Regions from separate parts of the Homo sapiens genome. Here region 2 is linked to region 1. Evidence: promoter capture Hi-C in 16 types of primary human blood cells and fetal thymus (Javierre and others, 2016). All regions are on one chromosome and are shown on one strand. The core of a region is centred on a gene start or on the middle of the fragment in contact, and the rest is flanking DNA. Distances in the headings are between cores, read along the strand shown.

Region 1 (7,611 bases), core at 1,665-4,164:
CTCTAGTTCCCAAGGCGTCCGCGCGCCAGCACAGAAACAGAGGAGAGTCCCAGAGCAGGAGGCCCCTGGCCCAGCGGCCCCTCCCACACACACCCACACACTCGCCCGCCCACTGTCCTGGGCGCCCTGGAAGCCGGCGGCCCAAGCCCGACTTGCTGTTTTGTTCTGTGGTTTTCCCCTCCCTGGGTTCAGAAATGCTGCCTGCCTGTCTGTCTCTCCATCTGTTTGGTGGGGGTAGAGCTGATCCAGAGCACAGATCTGTTTCGTGCATTGGAAGACCCCACCCAAGCTTGGCAGCCGAGCTCGTGTATCCTGGGGCTCCCTTCATCTCCAGGGAGTCCCCTCCCCGGCCCTACCAGCGCCCGCTGGGCTGAGCCCCTACCCCACACCAGGCCGTCCTCCCGGGCCCTCCCTTGGAAACCTGCCCTGCCTGAGGGCCCCTCTGCCCAGCTTGGGCCCAGCTGGGCTCTGCCACCCTACCTGTTCAGTGTCCCGGGCCCGTTGAGGATGAGGCCGCTAGAGGCCTGAGGATGAGCTGGAAGGAGTGAGAGGGGACAAAACCCACCTTGTTGGAGCCTGCAGGGTGGTGCTGGGACTGAGCCAGTCCCAGGGGCATGTATTGGCCTGGAGGTGGGGTTGGGATTGGGGGCTGGTGCCAGCCTTCCTCTGCAGCTGACCTCTGTTGTCCTCCCCTTGGGCGGCTGAGAGCCCCAGCTGACATGGAAATACAGTTGTTGGCCTCCGGCCTCCCCTCTGTGCTGGTGTGCTCTTGTGCCTGGTCAGGGGTGGCTCCAACTTGGGATGGGGAAGGAGGGTGGGTAGTGCGAAGCCAGCACGGCAGCTGACTCGGCAGCACCGGGACAAGCATTTGGGGTGCCCCGGGCCTATGGCCCCCTGCCCTGCCCTGCCCAGCCCATGGGCTCCAGCCTGGTCGGCCAGCGGGGACTGACTTGTTCCCAGGTCTGGAGCAGTAGCCGGCAGGATGTGGCCTTGGCTGGGGTTTCAGGGTGTCTAGTGTGAGTGCCAGCCTTGAGGAGTGATTTCAGGGAGGTGGCCCAGCCAGGCAGCCACGGCACTCGAACAGAGGCTATTTCTGCTCTCGGGGACCCTCAGAGCAGGCCTACCAGTCACCCTCCTCAGCCCTCTTGTCCCGGGAAATAAATGGCCCCAGGTGGCGTGGGGGGGCTGGCCTAGCTGGGCCTTCTTGCCTCCCAGGCCCTAGAAGCGGTTTTGTGTGCAGTGAGCTGAGCTGGCACCAAGCAAGCCTGCCCAGGGTCCCTGGTTGCAGGGATTGGACTCAGAAGTCCCCTCCAGCCACAGCTGCCACAGTCACGGATCCCCGGGCTGATAACGCGGTGCGCTTGTTCCGCTGGGAGGGGAGGGGTTGGGAGCGTGTGCCCGGATGCAGTGGTAGCAGCCCCTGGGGTTCTAATAGGTAAGTAGGAGTTTGTGGGCATGTGGTGGTGGGAGCAGAGTTCCTTTTGGGATCAGTAGCTCTGGAGTCACTTAGAGCCCCCTCGAGCCCCACCCCAACAGGTTAGAAGATGAGGCAGATGTGACATTTGCCATTATCTTGATGCCTCTGCCTGAGGGTGGTGGCTGCCTTGGCCTTCCTCCCAAGGGGCTGCAGGGCTTTCACCCCAGAGCCATGCTACGGCAGACACCTGGAGCAAGAACATTTACCCAGGGTGGCACGGAGGCTTGGAAACACATGCCTGGCGTTTGGCATGCCTGAAATCTGAGCAGAGCTGGGCAGAACTCTGCAGGGCCTGGCAGGGCTTCTGGGGAGACAAATGTCCTGTCATCAGATGCTTTGTGCACTGAGGCCTGGGAGGGCAGAGAGGTACAAGGAGGCAGCCATACCCTGTTGTCCCTGCCCTGTCCCACTCTCCCCATCTCCCTCCTTCTGCAGCTTGTCAGCTCCGTCCAGCTCCCATCTTCATGGCTGCTGCCCTGGGGTTGCTCCGAGGGCTCCCTCCAGCCCGGCAGGATTCTCGGGGCCCTGGAGTCTGACCCCGGGTTCCTCCGTGGTTTTCTAGCTGGTGACTGGACCCTGAGCCTGGAGTCCCCCCCTGTCTAGACTGTGGGTTGTAACCAGAAACCCCTAGCAAAGGGGAAGCTGGAGCCCAGGCCCTTGGGGAGCCCACCAACAGTCACATGAATGCTGGCTGTGCCAAGTTTGGCTCGGCCCTGGCTCTGCCCTGCGACCCCTGGCTCCCTCTCAGTGGTGTTTCCTGGCCTCAGAGGCAGCCCCAAGGTGGCCTGAGGCCGGGAGCAGGCCCTGGCTCCCCTGTCACCTACCCAGTGACCCTGGGCAGGCCCTGGACCCTCGGGCCCAGGCAACCCTCTCCTGCTATGGAGGCCTCCTCACTGCCTGAGGCCTTCAGGGCAAACTGGGGTGGGGCAGCACTGGGCAGAGGCTGTGTGGCAGGCCAGGGTCTCCCAGAAGGTGGTGGCTGGCCGGGTAAGCCCAGCTCAGATGCTGGGGAGACATGGGGGCATGGCACACAGGCCACACTCAGCCTGGGATCAGGCCCCGTCTGAGGACACCGGGTCCAGTTTTCCCTGGGCCAGGCCCTTGGAAAGGAGGAGGGAGTTGGGGAGGGAGAACGGAACCCTGGTTCTCCGACAGGCCCCATCCACCCACGGCCTGTGGGCTCCAGGGAGAGCATGGCCAGGGTGCCCAAGGAGACGAGGAGGAGGCTCCTCATGCTTCATGACCCCTCCTGCTCGTTAGGGTTTATCAACATCATTTAAGATCAGCCTTGTGCTGTGGGTTCCTGGCGTGCTGTGGATAACACTGTGCCCGGGTCAGCCCAGGCATGAGGGGCGGGGACTAGGCTGGAAAGAGGAGGGGCTTGCAGAGGGCTGGGCTTTTCCAGGGGATTAGGGTTCAGAACAGAGGTTTGGGGAGAGAAAGGGTTCAGAGTCAGGCACAGGCAGGCAGACAGGACCCCAAGCAGGACTGGCCTTCCAGACAGGAAAGAGGGTTGCGGAGACACAGGAGGCCAGTTGAGAGTGGCAGAGGAGAAAGGAGTTTCATGGGAGGATGGGGCTTGGAGAGAGATGAGGGAGGGAAAACGGGGGCCGCCATGCATCCTCAGCTTCCGGGGGACTTTGGAGAGGGTCGAGGCTCAGTGGGAGCTGGAGGTTGGTGAAGAGGACCCAGCTCAGGGAACCTGCGTGGTGAAGTGGGGGACTTGGAGGGAGGGAGGGAAGGCTGGAGTTTTCTCCATGGGGAGGAACTCATGGGGACTGTTATGGGGATGGAAGATCAGCTGGCGTCAAGCATACCGTGAGAGTGAGGATGTGGTGGGGTAGCGGAGGCGGCTGAGGCTGGGAGGACAGGCATTGGTCAGGAAAAATGATTCACAGGGAACAAAGTATCCTCAGGGGACCAGGCTCAGAAGGGCTGGTAGGGATCACAGAGAGGCTGTGGGCAGGTGAGTAAACCAGCCTCCAGGGAGACAAGTGTCCTTAGCAGCCAGGACCTCAGCACAGGACCAGAGCTCGGAACGGGACACTTTGCCCTGCGAGCAGATGGAGCATGACCTGGGGTCTGCGCAGGAGAGGCCACATTCTCCCAGACTCTGGGAGTGAACTGGAGTGGGGCCCCGGCTGGGTGAAGTCAGACTCCAGGAAAGGGGGCAGGAGCTCCGATGGGCAGGAGTGGGCTCAGCCAGGAAGGAACAGAGTAGGGGGTGCTGAAACTTACCGGAAGGCCTGGACTTGGTGGGCTAAGGAGGGAAGGGACTGGAGGGTGGTCTTGGGGGCCTTGTGGACTTGGTTAGGGACAGGATGGGGCAGAGACGGGCAGTCAGGTAGGGGGCCTGCTGGGGCTCAGGGGACTGGAGCTTCGTCAGGAGGGGACTGAGCTGCTGGAACTGAGAGTCAACAGGCCAGAAGGGCAGGACCCAGGGGCGGGGGTCCCTGGAGGCAGCAGGGCCCAGGCGCTGGGGTGGAGCGCCATGGGGAGAGTGGGAAGAGGAAGAGGGTCTCTCTTGGGGAGGCAGATGGGGAGGGTTCCGGGAGCGTCCAGTCTTCCACGGGGCTGGGGGCTCCGCGAGAGGGATGGGGCCGGGTGGGGTGGGGAGGAAGACGCAGTGGGTCCGGGGAGATGGAGGTGGCGCGGACACCCTGGTCGGGGGCTGTAGGGGTCCCATCCCTGCGGGACCTTGCAACTCCCCAGGGTCGCGGCTTCCGAGGCCCCCACCCTCCTGGCAGGAGGAGGCGGAGGCGGGGAGGTGGCTGTGCCCGCTGCCGCCGTGAGTCAGGCTCTGGGCTGCAGCCGCGCGGCCGGTCTGGCGCTGCGGAGGGAGCGCAGGCGGCGGGGGAGGCAGCGGCGCCGCCGCCGAGCCCCGCGCGCTCCCCACCCCCTCAAGGTTGGGCCGCTGGGAGGCGGATCAGTGGACAGACAGCGGCCCGCGGGACGGCGGAAGGACGCGCGCACCGAGGCTCAGGGGGTCCGGCCGCGCGCCGAGGAGTCGCTTGTAGGTGAGGAGGCGCCGTCCGGGGGGCTGCGGCAGACCCGGATGGGGCTGGGGGCTGCAGAGCCTCGGCCGCAGACCCCCCGGCGAGCGCCGCACGGGAGCTGGGAACGCGGGGTGGCGCAGAGCGCGAGCGACTTGGTGCCTCGTTGGAGAAGTGTTCATTTCACAGCCTGTTATTGTGCGTCTATGTATGGCCCGGGGGTGCGTGGCTCCGGGCAAGTGTGCGCGCTTGGGGTCCCCAGGTTGGAGGTGGGGGGCGGTGCGCACGAGTTGGAGACCCCGCACCTGTGCCGGTTCTTGGTGCTCGTGGCTGAGCCTGCATCGCCTTGTGTGGGGAGTTGTTTACTCGTCAATGGCTCTGAGCGCGCCCGCGGGTGCGCCCCGGGGTCTGGAGAGCCCGCGGTGCAGCCCGCGGTGGAGCCCGTGGCGGTGCCCGTGGCGGTATCGGGTGTCCGCGGGCGCCGTGGGCAGGTGCTTTGGCCGCTCTGCTAGCTCTGCCGGTTGGCGGCTGAGGCAGCGTCGCTGTGGGTCCGGCGCCCCGTGTGTGCGGGGTTGTTTGGGGTGCTGGGGCACTCTGTGTTTTGCAACAGTGTCAGTCTCAGCGTTGGTGTGCTTCGGGGCGGGGGGTGCTGTTGTGTGTGTCAGTGGGTGAGTGTTTATGCGCAGATGGCGAAGTGATGAAAGCCCCAGGTCCCTGCCAAGGCTGCTGCGAAGGGCTTTGGCATCGTCCGTGGCCGCCGAGGCCCGGGGCGGGTGGGGGAGGCAGGTGGCAGGCTGGCAGCTGGCGGCCCCCGCAGGGATTTCCGTCTCCACTGGGGCTGTTCTCGGAGCTGCTGGGCGTGAGGGTGGGTGCTGGCCGGTAGGCCGGGCCCAGCTTGCTCTCACTTTCTCCTCTCCAGGCCCAGGGCCCCGGCCAGTGCCCAGCCCCGCTGGGAGACCCGGCCAGCACCACGGACGGCGCCCAGGAAGCCCGAGTCCCCCTGGACGGGGCCTTCTGGATTCCGAGGCCCCCGGCAGGTTCGCCCAAGGGCTGCTTCGCTTGCGTGTCCAAGCCCCCTGCCCTGCAGGCTCCGGCGGCCCCTGCCCCTGAGCCCTCGGCCTCTCCCCCGATGGCGCCCACACTGTTCCCCATGGAGTCCAAGAGCAGCAAGACCGACAGCGTGCGGGCTGCCGGCGCGCCCCCTGCCTGCAAGCACCTAGCCGAGAAGAAGACGATGACCAACCCCACGACCGTCATCGAGGTCTACCCGGACACCACCGAGGTGAACGACTATTACCTGTGGTCCATCTTCAACTTCGTCTACCTCAACTTCTGCTGCCTGGGCTTCATCGCCTTGGCCTACTCCCTCAAAGTGAGCCCGGGCGGTGGCAGGGGGCAAGGGCGGGCTAGAGAGGTGGTGCCGGCAGGACAGTCCCTGGCTGTGGGCGCTCGGCCCCTCTCCCTCTCAGGGGAGCACACGGGTAGAACAGGTGCAGTTGAGGGGCCAAGGGATCAAAGGACAGTGAGGGGTCCTGATGGTGGGTCCCAGAGAGGTCGGGGTACTGGCTAGGTCTGGGCGGGCAGGGGTCTGCCCTTCCCTCTCCTGAGCCATCAGGGCCTGGCTTTCTGCTCAGCCAGCTCAGCGGAACCTGCAGGAGGGGCTGGGAGCGGGGGTTGAGGGGGGCGGGGTTGCTCAGGCTCAGGGGACATGGGACGTAGACCTGGGCAGCAGCCACTTCTCCGTGTGCAGGGATGGGGCCAGCGTGGGGCTGAAGAGGGCTTGGAATCCTACCCCTATGGAAAGGAAGAGGGGCCACCTTCTTATCCAGCTCCTCACCCGGAGCCCAAGGGCAGGTGCTTACACAGCTCTGCCAAGCCCTGCGTGGAGACCAGACCTGGGTGGCCAGGGCAGCCCAGGGAAGAGGGGTGTAAACAGGTCCTGCACCTCCCCAGCTCAGGGCTGCGAGAAGAGCTGGCTGGTAGCAGAGCAGGTGCTGGGCAGACATGACCCTGTCCCCCTGAGGGCAAGGTGGAGCAGCAGGGACTGAGATGGTGGGAGGGAGGCTGTGATGGGCTCACAGTGAGAGGGGCAGCCGTGTGTCAATGTGTCTGGTGCTGGAGCCCTTCCTGGGGAAGGGAGCGTGAGGGCGAGGGCAGGCCCCGGTGCCCTCCTCCCCACCCCGACGCACCGGAAGGAAGGGCTTGGCTCACGTTTAGCCTCATCATCACATTTCCCCAGCCCAGACTTGAGTGGCCAAGGCCAGATGTACTCCACCAATGCAGCTGCCCTGCCGGGTGGGGGAGAAGACAGGGGATGCAGGGAGAGAAGAGGCTGGGCAGAGGCTGGCTGGGAGGAAGGACGCCTGGCCAGCTTCGCCTCTGCTCCATCCTTGAGCTCGAGCCCCACCCCGCCCGGCATCGCAACTGCGGTCGGCGTTCCCCTCCTGCTCCTGACTCATCATGATTGCCAACCCCGGCGTTGCCCACTGGCACGGGCACCTTCAACCTCGGGCCTGCGGATCCATCCCTGGGCTCTGACACAGGGGCCTGTGTGTGAGCCAGCACGTGTCAGTGTATGTGTGTACTCACGTGTAATTGCATAAGTGGGCATGTACTGTGAGTGTAACTATGTGTGCATGTGAATGCATTGTGTGCATGAGTGTGTACATATATTTTTGTGTGTGCATGTGTGTGCATGTGTATGACTGTGTGTAGGCAGGAGTGTATTTGCATGTGTGTACATGTGAATGCATATGTGTGCATGTGTGTAATTACGTGGGTGGGCATGGTGTGTGTAAATGTGTGTGCACAAGTGTGTGAGGGCGTGTGTGCATGTGTGGTGTGTGTACCTGTGTGCATGTGTGTGTAATTGCATGTGTGCATGGTGTGTGTAAATGTGTGTGCACAATGTGTGAGGGTATGTGCATGTGCGCTGTATGTACCTGTGTGCACGTGTGTAATCACACGTGAGTGTGCATGGCACATGTAAATGTGTGTGCACAAGTGTGTGGGGTGTGCCTGTGTACTGTCTGTATGTACCTGAGTGTGCACGTGTGTGTAATCACACATGAGTGTGCATGGCACGTATAAATGTGTGTGCACAAGTGTGTGTGGGGTGTGCCTGTGTACTGTCTGTATGTA
Region 2 (7,611 bases), core at 2,601-5,100, 66 kb before region 1:
GGCCCCTGGGCCTTTCCGTTTGAAGCTTGCCTTGTAGTCTGAAGGCAGATTATTCCCAAACCCTCTATTGGGAGAATTTTACACACACACAGAAACATTCCAAGGCTTCCTTAGATTCCATGAGTACCGCCAAACAGCCAGCCAGTGCCTCCCACCCTGCAACACCCTCTCTAGATTCCTTTTATTATAGCAAGCCGCAGTGGGCCTCTGTCTCTCTTCTCATGTTCCCAAAAGATAAGAACGCTTTTTCAAAAATCCATTTTCACAGCTAAACAAATACCAGTAATTCTTAAATATGATCAAACCTGGACAGGGCTCAAATTTCCCCCATTGTCTCATCAATGGATCTTACGGATGGTGTCTTCAAGTCACCCCACATGGAACTCATGTGCCATCTTGCTCCTGCGCCTCTGGAGCCCCCTTTGATCAATTAGTGCCTCTGTCTTTTCATTCTTGCCACTTATTTGTTGAAGAAGCAAGGGCGCTCATCCTAAGGAGTTCCCAACATTCTGGGTTTCACAAGTCGCAACACAGCGTTTCAGGTGTCTTTCCTTACTCTATAGTGCTGAGGCCTGATCAGTGTAAGGTCAAGCCTTTTGGCAAGGCCGCTTCATGGAGGGAGATGGCACTTCCTTTGTGCATGGCGGGAGGCACTGGATGTCCTGGAACTTCCTCCTGGGATATGGGGCTGATCAGTGAGTAGGTTTGGGTGTAGCCAGCTACAGCCATAAGCCACTAAGTGCCCAGTGGCTTTTCTTTTCATGGTTTTAGCAGCTGCTGGTGACATTTCCTAGAACAGGGGTCAGCAAACTACAGTCGCCCCCGGCCAAATCTTATTCCCCATCTGTTTTTGTAAATAAAGTTTTATTGGAACATGGCCCCCACTCATTCACTTATGTACCATCTGTGACTGCTTTCATGGTACCATGGCTGTGGTGATTCCAAGAAGGTCCCCCCAGACTTTGTGCCGTGATTCCCAGAATTGTGAATAATTCTCACCCTTGTGAGTGTGTTATGTTGTCTGGCAAAAGGCATTTTGCGGATAAAGTTTAGGCTGCTGATGAGTTGACTTTAAAATAGAGAGAGGATCACGGTGGGCCTGGTTGAATCCCATGAGCCCTGTAAAAGCAGAGTTTGGGTTGTTTTTTTTACCCCCCAGCTGGTGGTAGGAGAGAAATTGAGAGGGATTCACAGTGATTCTCCTCGAGGAAGGCTCTCCATGAACCAGGGGAAAGGACTGAGCACGACCTCCTGCAGAGAGTCACCCTGCCTACAGCCAGCAGGAAGATGGGGACCTACAAACACAAGAACCGAATTGTGTCCACACCGTGAATGCCCCGAGAGTGGAGTCTTCCCCAGCACCTCCAGAGAGGAGCCCAGCCTGGCTGGCATCTGCTCTCAGCCAGTGAGGACCTAAGGAAAAAGCCCTACAGGAATGCCCAGAGCTCTGTTCCACAGGATGCACAGGATTTGTTTCACAGCTGGGTTTGTGGTGATTTATTACACAGTGATAAAAAACAGACACAATGACAGAGAGCAAATGGCCTGCAAAGACAGATGTGTTTGCAACTCAGCCCTTGTAGAAAACAACCACAACAACAAGCCCTAAGTTAGGTTTCTCAGTCTTGGCATTGTGGGCATTTGGGGCCAGGCTGTTAGTTTTCTATGGTGTGGAACAAATTGCCACAAACTTAGTGGCTTAGAACAACACATGTTTCTTATCTCACAGTTTTTGTGGGTAGAAGCCTGGGGCACAACTTAGCTGGGTTCTCTACCTCAGGATCCCATGGTGTCAGCTGGGGCTGCATTCTCATCTGAAGGTCCAACTGGGACAGGGCCTGCTTTGCATTCACTTAGCTTGTTGGTAGAATTCAGGTCCTTGTGGTTGTAGCACTGAGGTCCTCACTTCCTGCAGGCCACCCATAGTTCCCAGTCTTGTGGGCCCCTCAAAGGCAGTTCACACATGGCTCTTGCTTCTTCAAGGCCAGCAGGAGACAGAGAGAGTGACTCCAGAATATTATATACTATAATATAATCCCAGGTGTGACATCTACCACCTTTGCCATATTCTGTTGGTTAACACTTTCAAGGAGAGGGGACAACACAGAAGCACAGCCAACAGGAAGCAGAAATCACTGTGGTTCACCTTAGGGTCTTTCTAACCCAGCCAGATAATGTTTGCTGTGGGGCTGTCCTGTGCACTTTAGGATATTTGTCAGCATCCCTGATCCCTACAGCAACTCTCAGTTACAACAATCAAAAATACCTGTAGATATTGCCAGAGGGGCAAAACTGCCCCCAGTTGAGGACCACTGCCCTAGATCCATCATTTCATTAGGGGTTGCAAAATTGCAATTTTCTAAACTTGGTATTTCTTCAGCATTTATTTGCAAGAGTTCTTCTAAAGATACACTTTCCCACATCAAATATTTGGTACAGGGAAGGCAGAGAAAAATATTGATTATTTTAAATATATATTATTGTGAAATCATAAATTGAAGTATATTACTTAAATGTACTGTATTGAATGTGTGCAGTAATTCTCAATGGCTGTGGAACAAATTGCCACAAACATAAAGCTCCCATTTAGTATATGCACTTCTGTATGCCAGATGTCCTGGTATAGCTTAGCCAGATTCCTCACTCAGGGTCTCACTAGCTTGAGATCAAGCTGTCAGCCAGGCTGTGTTCTCATCTGGAGACCCAACTAGGGAGGGAGCAGCTTCCAGGCTCATTTAGGTTTTGGCAGAACTTATTTCCATGAAGTTGCAGAATTCATGGCAGCTTCCTCCTTCAAAGCCAGCAACAGAGAGAGAGGGTCTCTGCCCCTTCGAGTCTCTAACTTCAGAGAAGCCCTAGACTCTCTTACAAAGGGCTTGCCTGTTAAGTCAGGACCACTGAGAAAAATCTCCTTTTGATTAACTCAAAGTCAACTGGTTAGGAACTTAATTATATCTGCAAAGTCTCTTCACTTTTGCTTTAATCTCTCAGTCAAAGAAAAATCACAGATTCTGCCCTGCCTCAGGGCAGGGGATTAAATAAGGCCATTACTCACTGGAGGCCGCATTAGGGTGTGCCTGACACAATGCCCTTCCATTCATTGAACTTATTGTCTTTACTGGTGACCATGTGGTCCCACATTTGGTCAATGGGGATACATTTAAGTTGACTGGTATGTCATCTTGAAATGACCTCAGTAGTCTTTGATTGTTTCTTAGCTTTCTGATGCAATGAGAAGTTCCAGGTTTATCTTATGTCATGGCTATGTCATGGCTCAGCCCAGAACCAGTCATTTCTCCAAGGGTTCACGGTTCTTTTTGAAGGGAGTTTGGTGGGTATTTAGAGGTCCCACTTTGGGTGCCAGGGTGCTCATTGCTACTAGTCTATTTTCATTGTTTCTAAGCTTTTACTGTGGACAGAATTAGGCAAGACCTATTTTTCCAGTTTTTGTATGGTGGTAAAATATGTGTAACAAAATTTACCATCTTCTAAGTGCACAGTTCCGTGGCATTCAGTACATTCGCGCTGCTGTCATCCCACTATCCAGCTCCAGAATGCCTTTTGTCTCGAAAAGCAGCAGCTCTGCTCCCATTAAATCCAACTCCCCCTCCACCTCCCCCAGCCCCTGGCACTCGCCATCCTACTTTCTGTCACTATAAATTTGACTACTCTAGGGACCTCATACAAATAGAATCATACAGTATTTGTCTTTTCTTTTTTCTTTTTTTGACTGGCTTAGGAAATAACTTTTTTTTGTTTTGTTTTTTTAAGATAAAGTCTTGCTCTGTCACCCAGGCTGGAGTGCAGTGGCATGATCCCAGCTCACTACAACCTCCACCTCCTGGGTTCAAGCAATTCTCCTGCCTCAGCCTCCTGAGTAGCTGGGATTACAGGCATGCACCACCATGCCCAACTAATGTTTGTATTTTTAGTAGAGACAGAGTTTCACCATGTTGGCCAGGCTAGTCTTGAACCCCTGACCTCAAGTGATCCACCCGCCTAGGCGTCTCAAAGTGCTGGGATTACAGGAGTGAGCCACTGTGGCCCAGCTGGAAATATATATTTTTAAAGGTAAATATATCATGGAATCATACTGATATTTCTAATTTACCTACAGGATTTTAAGTTTCTTTCTTGACTTCTTGGAGTGCATACGTTTATCTGAACCGTTTTATGACTGTGAACTGTTTTATGTGAACTGTTTTATGACTGAAAAAACTACAGGGCACAGGCAGGTTGCTCAGCATCCTGGTTGCTGTCTCTTTCAGGTGCCCCTTGCCCCTTTTTGCAAGCTTTATTTTTATTTTTTTGAGACAGAGTCTTGCTGTATTGCCCAGGCTGGAGTGCAGTGGTGTGATCTCGGCTCACTGCAACCTCCGCCTCCTGGGTTCAAGTCGTTCTCCTGCCTCAGCCTCCTGAGTAGGTGGGGCTGCAGGCGCCCACCACCTCACCTGGCTAATTTTTGTATTTTTAGTAGAGACGGGATTTCGCCATGTTGCCCAGGCTGGTCTCAAACTCCTAGCCTCATGTGATCTGCCCGCCTCATCCTCCCGAAGTGCTGGGATTACAGGCATGAGCCATGGCGCCCGGTCTCTTTTTGCAAGCTTTGATTGACAGTTCCATCTTTTAAAAGATATTTATTCACACCCCAAAACCTTTCTTAGTAAACGACAGTGTGTTAATCCCCATCTGGTCTGCCCCATGTTGAGTGCCCCAGACACGGGTCTGGGAGACCAGCCACAGCTTTGCCCAGAGCCTCTCACCCACTGTCAGCCACAGAGGCTCCCCAGCGTGGACACCCCTTGGTTTGTCCAACCAGACCCACTCCAACAGGTGGGTCACCTGCGCCATTTGCTCTTACATGGGGTGCCCCATGCATGGCCAACACAGCCACCGTTTGTAGGTTTTGAGGCAGTTTGGGTGGCCCCAGCTGACATCAAGTGGTCCTGGATGACACCTGTGTTCTTAGCCAGCCTAGAGCTCCTGCCTCAGCTGCCTTCATCCCGGGAATGCGTGGCAAGGCAGCTCTGTGGGCTGCTGTCTTCTGGTGCATTCTCCCTGAGTTTATCCAGAAGTTAGTCCCATTCCTGGGCCCACTACAATGTGGGTTAAGCCCTCATGACTCTGAGATCTCCTCATTCCCGAGGAACATGCTAGCACTTCTTGCAGCTCCACATCTCCCCACCTTGTCATCCTGGAGTATTCTCAGAAAGGCCAGAAGTTGTCACCCCTTCTAGGGGACTCACACGTGAGCCCAGCCCCTGTCCGTTTATGGAAGGAGACACCCCTGCTCCCATGGGGCCCTTCTCCTGGGGAAGGGAGGGAAAGAGCTTGGTGTTTGGGCCTGTATCTGGCCTTTCTCCCGGGAAGGCCCTGGACGTGATGCCCAGAGCGCCCAGCCACCCAGCAGGCTCCTGGCCGCCCATGCCCCAGGCCCAGCCTCCTAGGGCCGTAGCCTCCCCAGGGCCTCAGTGCCCCACCACCACCGGGAAATTCCAGTGGAATCATCACAGAGCCCTGGGGATGGTTAAGGCTCTCTGGTTGCAATAACACAAACTGAAGCTGGCGAACTTAAGCCAGGAAGAAAAGAGGGCATTTATTGGAAGGAGGGGCAGCCGTCAGACCAGAAGAAAGAACCAAAGAGCCCATTCAGGCTTCCTGGTCCGGGAGCCCATGAGCAGTCCCTGGAATGACACGGTCTTCCTTCTCGGGGAGCATGGCCACAGCCACCAGTTGATGGACAGGCCCACCAAGCTGCCCCTCCATGGAGGAAGGGTGGTTCCTTGCAGGGGAGGGGACACAGGCAAGGCCCAGGCCCAGAGCCTTCTGCAAGGGGAGGATTTCTTGTTTGTCCTAACACAGTGCCACTCAGGCTCGCCATGCACCATGGCCTGGCCCCGTTCAACATCAGCATCTCTTCCCTGCAGGCTCCTCTTTGGGACACACTGGCGCTGCCGTCGGGGGTCGGGTGCTGCCCAAGGACCTGAGATCCTATTCCATTCCTGACTCCCCCGGAGCTTGCAGCCTCCAGGAGACGGGTCTGATCTCACTTTCAAATCAAAGTCTTTCTGCATGAGGTCTGGTCATAGAGAAGGCGGCCCCTGTGGGCCCCCGGTTTGGGGACACAGAAATCCTTTCACTTCTGCAACCTCCCAAATGCGCTTTGAGCAGTTGTGTTATGGGCTAAATTGTGTCCTCTCAAAATTCACATGTTGCAATCCTAGTTCTCGGTGCCTAACGATGTGATTGTAGCTCGAGATGGGATCTTCTTTTTGTTTTTTTTTGAGACAGAGTCTCACTCTGTCACCCAGGCTGAAGTGCAGTGGCACAATCTCGGCTCACTGCAACCTATGCCTCCCGGGTGGGTTCAAGTGATTATCCTGCCTCAGCCTCCCAAAGTGGCTGAGATTACAGGTGTGTGCCACCACGCCTGGCTAAATTTTTTATATTTTTAATAGAGATGGGGTTTCACCATGTTAGTCAGGCTGTTTGAGATGGAATCTTTAAAGTGGCAATTAAGTTAAAATGAGGTCTCCAGGGAAAGCCCTAATTCAGTGTGGCTGTGTCCCTACAAGAAGGAGAGGTAAGGACAAACACACACCGAGGGACGGCTCTGAGGGCACACAGGGAGAAGGCAGCGTCTGCAAGCCATGGAGAGCGGCCTGGGAAGAAACAGCCCTGCCACAGGTTGATCTCAGACTCCAGCCTCCGGGACTGAGAGACAACAGATTCTCGCTGTTCGAGCTGTGCCACAGTAGTCACCCCTCATTGTGGGTTCAGTTACCGATGGCCAAGTATGGTCTGAAAACATTAAATGGAAAATTCCAGAAAGATGCAATTCATAAGGTTTTTTTTTTTGTTTGTTTGTTTGTTTTTTGTTTTTTGTTTTTGACAATGTCTTTCTCTGTGGCCTGGGCTGGAGTGCAGTGGTGCGGTCTTGGCTCACTGCAACCTCTGCCTCCTGGGTTCAAGCAATTCTCCTGCCTCAGCCTCCTGAGTAGCTAGGATTACAGGCACCCACCACCACGCCTGGCTGATTTTTGTATTTTTAGTAGAGATAGGGTTTCATCATGTTGCCCAGGCTGGTCTCGAACTCCTGACCTCAGGTGATCCACCTGCCTTGGCCTCCCAAAGTGCTGGGGTTACAGGCATGAGCCACCAGGCCCCGCCTTGTAAGTTCCAAATTGTGCAGTGTTCTGAGTAGCACGAGGAGCTCTCGTGCCCTGCGGGCTCCATCCCTTTTGCCTCACAGGAAGAAGGGTGAGCGCAACATAGGCCACATCTCGTAACTTTGTTGCAGTATACTCTTACAATTGTTCTCTTTTACTGTCGGTTATTGTGAATCTCTTACTGTGCCTAATTTATAAATTAAACTTTAACACAGGTGTGTATATAGAGGGTTCAGGGCTGTCTGCCGTCCCCAGTGTCCAGCATCCACTGGGGGGGTCCTGGAACGTGTCCCCCGGGGAAACGGACCCCTTGCTTTGTTATGGCTGGGGGGCTGTCTCACATGAGCCATTGCACGGGGAATATTGTCATGTATCTCTTTAATGTAACTCTGAGTCTTATCTTCAAGAAATTAGATAAACCAAATCTGGCATAAAACTTGAA

The links. The method cuts DNA at HindIII sites, captures the fragments that hold promoters and counts their contacts. A CHiCAGO score of 5 or more calls a contact.
Region 2: a fragment that was not itself captured here is called in contact with the fragment with the promoter of IFITM10 in region 1 in 1 of 17 cell types (monocytes); the score reaches 5.1 in monocytes.

Annotation. Positions count from the first base shown.
Region 1 is chr11:1,745,898-1,753,508 of GRCh38, reverse strand. IFITM10 (interferon induced transmembrane protein 10) reads left to right here and starts at 2,914. Exons shown (of 3, transcript NM_001170820.4): 1 at 2,914-3,150; 2 at 5,390-5,842. The coding sequence starts at 3,067. CTSD (cathepsin D) reads left to right here. Exons shown (of 9, transcript NM_001909.5): 9 at 1-754. The coding sequence ends at 6. RefSeq lists enhancers at 3,103-3,858, 3,859-4,614. The HindIII fragment of the contact is 9,148 bases long and covers 292-7,611 here.
Region 2 is chr11:1,813,173-1,820,783 of GRCh38, reverse strand. No RefSeq gene overlaps it. Among named protein-coding and RNA genes, the nearest start is that of SYT8, 18 kb to the left of the region's middle. The HindIII fragment of the contact is 889 bases long and covers 3,406-4,294 here.